Regions from separate parts of the Homo sapiens genome. Here region 2 is linked to region 1. Evidence: promoter capture Hi-C in 16 types of primary human blood cells and fetal thymus (Javierre and others, 2016). All regions are on one chromosome and are shown on one strand. The core of a region is centred on a gene start or on the middle of the fragment in contact, and the rest is flanking DNA. Distances in the headings are between cores, read along the strand shown.

Region 1 (3,593 bases), core at 573-3,072:
GAGCGCACCACCACACCTGGCTAATTTTTGTATTCTTAGGATAGACGGGGTTTCACCATATTGGCCAGGCTGGTCTCGAACTCCTGACCTTGTGATCCACCCGCCTCGGCCTCCCAAAGTGCTGGGATTACAGGCATGAGCCACCGCACCTGGACTGTTCTTGACTTTTATTCATTATTTTACTTAGGGTTTTATTATATTCTTTTTTATTTGTAAGAGCTATTTACGTATAACAGATACTGATTCTGTGTCATATGTCTCCTGGTTTGTTATGTCTTTAATTTTACATGGTGTCAGTGGAGAAGTGTGTTCCTTCCATTATGTCCTTTTTTTTTTTTGCTAAGTTTATTTCAGGGAACTTTATTCAGATCTCTTTCTGATTCTGTTTTTTGGTATAAGAAAACTTAAAAGATTTGCCTGGGCAGGGAATTTTTATATAATGTCTGAATTTAAAGCAATTAGCATATCTGAAGAAGTGTATGCATTTTTTACAAGTTCTACGTTAAAAGGAGTTCCAAAAATGAACTCACACAGGAATAAAGAAATCCATCTTATACCTCATCCTCTTGGAGATACTCAGACATATTACAAGAGAAACCACGCATCTGTCTTTTAGCATATACCAAAAAGCTCGTGAAACCTGGAATACAGCTTTGGAGCAATATACACCTAGATAATAATAGTACTTATTTATTTAGTTACTTCTTCACTTTAGAAAATTTTAAGCATATGTACAAGTAGAGAGAATAGTATAATGAACCCCCATGAGGTACCCATATCCAGCTTCAACTATTATCAACTCATGGTCAGTCTTACTTCAACTATACCCTCAACCACTTTTGAAGCAAATCCAAAATACTATGTCACTTCACCTGTCAATATGCTTGTAACACCATAGTATTGATATATCTTGTTCTTGTTTTAGATCTGGGATTCCTACTTTTACCTCGCAGTCATTTTTATAAACCAGTTGTGTCTGCAGTTGGAGATGTTCACACCTTCCAAGAAGAAAAAGGTGTTAGAAAAGTAAGTATCAGTGTATAATCAGGTGAGAAATGTTGCCTCTTAAAGAGTATTTAGTTCAAATGATTCATAAATCAGAATGCGCATAACTGGAAATCACACAGTGAAGAACCAGTGACCAAGGGGTCAAGAAGCAGTCTTTTCTGGATGTTTTGATATTTCAAACATGTTTGCACATTGTTTTGACCTGGCTCTTTCAGGATTCAAAATTTCTATAGATGCAAAAAATTATGAAACAGATCTCTTTTACTAAAAGGTTTACACCAGAATTTGACTTAGAGGCATCGTGACATGTATATTAAATGTCTTTAATTAAAAACTCCTTGCCTTGTAATTCAGAATGATAGATTGTATCCTAAAGACACACAAATACTTCCTTGTTCTGGAGGCATTGTATCAGGTTTGGTTTTTTGTTCTATTTCAGGTATGGTGACATGCGGGTAACAATGGGTTGTGAAATTTTCAGCATGTGGCAAAACCTAGGTAAGTGAGGAAAAGAGAAGCCACATCTACTATACAGCTCCTCGCTGTACCTTGAAGTGTACAAATGAAGAAAGGCAATTTACCAGTGACACCATGTGAAACCAAATGTCTAAATCAATAAACATCTATAGAAAGTAATTGACACTTTGGCATTGAATGAGGTTACAACAAATTCTTTAAATTGGTCTCTAAGAAAAGTCACCTTACCTTTGTGTGTTTCATTATTAATTAACGATAAATTTTATAATCTAGCATTGCTCCAACATTACACATATTTCCAGCGATGAGGCAACCTTTCAGAATTTGGAACTGTAACAACTCAAAATTTCTAGAACTCTGAGTTGAAGCTATGAATCATAATAAATTTAGGTTAAACTTCATGAAACATTGACTTGAACGTCACTACTCTTAAAAACTTGAGACCATTGTCCTATATCATAAAGAGTATAGCCAAAGGATTTTAAAAGCATCTGCAGTTGCTAAGAAACTGTTGGATCCAATTTTGTTAATCTGCTATAGCAGATAGAGTATATTATTCCAGAAAATTGATGGTACAGATCTGGTTGCATAGAAAACAGTAATATTTGGAAAACAAATTGTTTTAAAATTCATTGGCATAGGGTCCCTTTCTAGAGATTTATAAGTTATTTCATTTGGTATGTTAACTATGCAGGTTTTTAGTATTCATTTACTATTACTGCATCTTAATGCTCCTCTTTGATTTATTAAAATGATTGACCTATTTGAGTTGAATACGTAATGACCTGAAAATATCTTTTCTCTTGGGCTTATCCAAGTACAACTTGGAGATTGGAAGGATTTATTTTCTGTGAATGAAAATAGAACCATTATTGTTTTACTTCCACTCATGTTAACAGACTGATTTTTGACCAGGATCATTACAGGGTGATTTTTTTTTAATAGGGTATGTATATTCCTCAAATATACATAACAACTTGAGGGAGCCTTGGTATATATAATTAAGCCCAGTGTTCAATGCTTGCTGGTGATTTCAGAAAAAATAAAAAATAAAAAAAAATAATGAAGCTGGGAGCAATGGCTCATGCCTGTAATCCCAGCACTTTGGGAGCCTGGAGCGGGCAGATCACTTGAGGTCAGGAGTTTGAGACTAGCCTGGCCAACATGGTGAAACCCTGTCTTTACTAAAAATACAAAAATTAGCCAGGCGTGGTGGGGGGGTGCCTGTAATCTCAGCTACTTGGGAGGCTGAGGCAGGAGAATCACTTGAACCTGGGAGGTGGAGGTTGCAGTGAACCAAGATCGCTCCATTGCACTCCATCAGCCTGGGTGACAGAGTGAGACTCTGACTCAAAAAAAAAAAAAAAAGAGTTATCATCTTGAAAACAACCTTCAACTATGTAAGGCCAGCCAGAAGATATCATGGTCTGTCTTTAGTTGCAGCTCAAAAATAGTTTTCTTATTTGGAGACTGCTCTTCTTAGTCTTCAGTGTTTTCAGGTTTCATTGATTCTTTGTGTCCTTGTTTTTCCTAAAGAAGATCAAGGCCCTTGTAGTGTCCATATTGCATTCGACATTAATTTAGCAAGATGTTTTTGAAAGAATGCTGCATTGAATCTGTTTGAATGCACTTGTGGTTGTGTAAGCTCTTTTCTGGGCTCAAATTATGAGAGCAGGACAGATTCTGTTCGGTTACAAGAATGTTAAAAAAGAATGACCAGTTTCTGTTCTAGATACATCTCAGCATTGCCATCTATGGTTATTTCCACATAAACCTGTATCCAAACCATAATAGCTATGCATTTAGGCCCATGACCCTTGGGCTGCTAAATAAAGCTGTCACATGTAATCTCCCTAAACATGTCACTGTATACTTCATAAACTTTTATCCTGTATTTTGTCTTTCTTCTAAAATGAAACTATTTCTGCCTCTCTGGTTTTTATGTTAAATTGCTTCTCTGTTTTTCTCAGAGATCTAGAGAATATGGAAAATTTCTGGAGCATATCAATACCTATAATGCAGTATTTTGTTATACTGTAGCATCAGCATCCTTGGAAGCTTGTAAGAAATGCAAAATCTCTCACTCCACCTTAGACCTACTGAAACAC
Region 2 (3,593 bases), core at 635-3,134, 3.1 Mb after region 1:
CTGGAGGCTTAGAAACATATGACAAAATGAAATCAGTGCTTGGCTGGGGACTAAAAAAAGAGCGTGTATCAACTGCTTTAAGGCATGATGTGAGCTTAAGGGTCAGTGGCTCGCTGGAGAAATACATAGTTACACATGATTTTTTGCTTTACGTTATAGAGTTACTAATCTGTTTTTATCCCGCCAGAGATTTATCACAGTTATTAATAGGATAGCCCTTCAAAAACAATTCTGAGTAGCCAAAAGACTGATATGACCTCCAAGAGGAAACAAGGAACCATTTTCTCCTCTTTTCAGTATGCCTGCTGTTCAGGTTAAGATGGAGGCACATCCACTTGCAAGAGACACATCTCTTAGCTGCCCCCTTCACATTATTGCTCCCAAGATCATTTCACACCATATTGTTAACACTATAACTTTGACCTCAGAATGACGACCATGATATTTTGATAAAATGTCTTGTTAAAGTATCTACTATTCAACCCCTGGTAAAGACTTTTTTAAAGCACACATTCTTGTCTCTCATAATAGTAAAAAAAACAAAAATACAAAAATAAGTTTTTTAAAGCTATTCTAGGCTCATTTTCCGTATCTGTAAGATGAGATAATAAACAAGGCAATTTATAAAGGTTTTTGGCTCTAACAAGCCATGATTTGAAATGCACTAAGCATTTGAGTTGGTGGCAAAGTACGATGGAATGACCTCTCACTCTGGGTTACCATTTAAAGACAACAATAGCTGTGGTTCAAAGTGTGGCACAAGACAAGCTGACATTGTCTCACCAGGATATGCCGATAGGAAAACAAAGTCTGAGATCACAGTGTAGAAATGAGGATTTCTGGAGCAAAAGCATCAGGATTGACAAGCATGGGATGGGAGGGGGTTGATGTCTCACCTATAAATGTTAAGCAGTTCTTACAAATACCATTTAGCAAAAAGACATAACTATAATGACATTTTCCAGGAATCCTATAAAAGACAGAAAGCACAACCAGCCTTTTGTCAATGTCTTCTATTGTGATATGAGTGATTTAATGAAATTTGGAGTTGACAGTAATAATCTCATAATGTGACATACATTAAATCAATTTAACAAAGGTGAAACATAATAAAAATCTAGAACCTATGCCTGGCATTTTAAAAGTACATACTTACAACCTATCACAGGAGTTCAATTATTCTGAGACATTCTGTTCACATATATTAGTGTATGTAAAATATGCACAAAATTAAGATTTCAACTTCAGTCATGTAGTAAGGGCCAAATATGAGCCAATCACCAGGGACAGTAGAGCAAAGGCTCTTCATGCCATTACTTAATTATATTCACCAAGGGATGTAAAGAAAACCCCATTTTCTTCAAATGGAGTGGGTTTTATTTCAAATGTTTCCAAAATTCAACCACATTTATTTTCCCAATTTCTATAGCTGCCATCCTGGACAAAGCCACTATCTCTTCTCATCTGATTATTATGACAGCTTACTACTTGGACACCCTCCTTCTACCCTGGTCTCCTACTTCTATTTGCCATACAATAACCACAGTTGTGCTTTTAAAATGCAAGTCACTCCTTCACTCTCTCCCATCCCTTGGTTCTCATATTGGTCAATAAAAGCCCAAGTATTTCCCATGACCTCAAATGCCCTACAACTGCATCATCCATAACACCTAAGAGTTTGCTAGAAATGTTCTCAGGCCCTACTCCCCATCTACCGAATTATAAACAAGCCCTTCAGATGACTCAAATGAGGGCTAACGTTTGAAGACCAATGCCTTAGAGGACCGTACATCCTACCTCTCACTACCTCTCTGACTCATCTCCTTCTATTTTCCCTTTTGCCTACTTTGCTCAGCTCCAGCTAAAAAGGCTTAAATGTACCAAGCCTGTCCCAAGCTCAAGTTCTTTGTATATGTTTCTCTTCTGCCCAGAAAACTTTTTCCAGTAATATCCATGTAGCTTATTCTTTCACATCTTTTAGATGTCTGTACAAATATCATCTTATATAGCAGCCTTCCCTATCCTATATAAAATAGTAAGCCCTGAATCCAGAACTTCCTTTCCTTCTTACCTTCTTTATGTTTCTTCATTGCATGTATTATCTCCTGATATATAACATTTATCTGTTCATAGCCTGTCTCTTCCACTAGAATGTAAACCCATGAGGATGGAGTCTTTGTTATTAACAAATAACCAGTGTCAAGAACATTTTCTAACACAGAGCAGATCCTCCATAAATATTTACTGAATAAATGAATGAATGAATTCACCTCCCGGGTCTGAAAAGGAGGATATAGAGGCCAGATCAACATGTGACTCTAACATAAATGTCTAGAAAATGCTCTCCTTTCTAAAAATGTATTCCTCTACAGCTTTCCTATAGCATAGATTCTTGTAGCATTAAGAATTGAGTCTCCCTAAGGAGTTTATTAAGAGAAAATGCATTTACCTAGTTAAAGCAATAGCAGAGATATGTTTTTCCTAATTAAGCTCATTATCATTCATGTCACATAGGACATACAATATGTGCCATATAGCACATGGGCTTTTTTTTTGGAGAAGGTAAGGGGATGATTGAAGGGTTGCAGAAAATGCTGAGAACTTATGGTATACACCATGCTGATGAAGTTATTAGTAGTAGTCAAGAAAAAAGATCTATTAAAACAGAGTATGGAGCTACCCAATAGAGGAAGTTTATCAAGCTACACACACAATTCTTTCATGGGTACTGCTGTGGGTATCATGAACCTGGGGTGGACAGTTAATATATTAGGTGCCAGAATCAGACTCCCAAGTGAATGGACAACAGACAAAACATAATTTGAAATTAAGAAATAAAAAGTGTAAAAGGAGTGGAATGTGGTTAAACAGTTTTTTAAGGTTATGTTTTGTGGCAATGCCAATAAAGACCTTGGACACGCTTAGGACACATGATCCACTGGATTAAAAGAGTCATTCCAGATCTGACACAAAAGGACACTTTCACCTACAAAACTTAAATTGTTGGAATTATGGTGCCAAAAAAATTTCAATTATATTTCAGGCATAAATATAACAACATCTTTAAAATTTCAAGGGTCATTAGAGAGGTGACACTAAAATCAGAGTTGCAAATCATGGACAAAAGCACTGTTCAAAACTAATTTTGCCAGGGGGTTGGCCAAGATGGCCAACTAAAAGCAACTAGTCTGCACTGCTCTTACAGAGAGAAATGGAAGGGATAAGTAAATACAGCACCTTCAACAGAAACATCCAGGTACTCGCATTGGGACTCACCAAGGAAACAACTTGACCCATGGAGAACGGAGAAAAGCAGGCAGGACAACTGCCCTCCCAGGAGCAACACAGAGCCAGGGGAACCTCCTCCACCCAGGGAAGTAGTAGTTCAAGGCAACTAGGTACTGGGGCGATACCCCAGCACAGTCCAGCAGCTCTATGGAGAAGCAGTAAGACTGCTTATTCACACAGATCCCAAATCCCATTTCTCTTGAATCTCCACCTGGGATCTCCTGTCACCCATGCTAGTATTTTCCAGCCAACGGAGGTTTTATGCCTCCCTGGGACGCGGCTTCCACAGAGTGGTGGGCCATCTT

The links. The method cuts DNA at HindIII sites, captures the fragments that hold promoters and counts their contacts. A CHiCAGO score of 5 or more calls a contact.
Region 2: a fragment that was not itself captured here is called in contact with the fragment with the promoter of DOCK4-AS1 in region 1 in 2 of 17 cell types (non-activated CD4 T cells and total CD4 T cells); the score reaches 5.1 in non-activated CD4 T cells.

Annotation. Positions count from the first base shown.
Region 1 is chr7:111,806,734-111,810,326 of GRCh38, reverse strand. DOCK4-AS1 (DOCK4 antisense RNA 1) reads right to left here and starts at 1,822. Exons shown (of 2, transcript NR_103806.1): 1 at 1,714-1,822. DOCK4 (dedicator of cytokinesis 4) reads left to right here. Exons shown (of 53, transcript NM_001363540.2): 29 at 926-1,026; 30 at 1,448-1,506. The HindIII fragment of the contact is 9,376 bases long and covers 1-3,545 here.
Region 2 is chr7:108,746,128-108,749,720 of GRCh38, reverse strand. No RefSeq gene overlaps it. Among named protein-coding and RNA genes, the nearest start is that of LINC02903, 140 kb to the left of the region's middle. The HindIII fragment of the contact is 5,995 bases long and covers 1-3,593 here.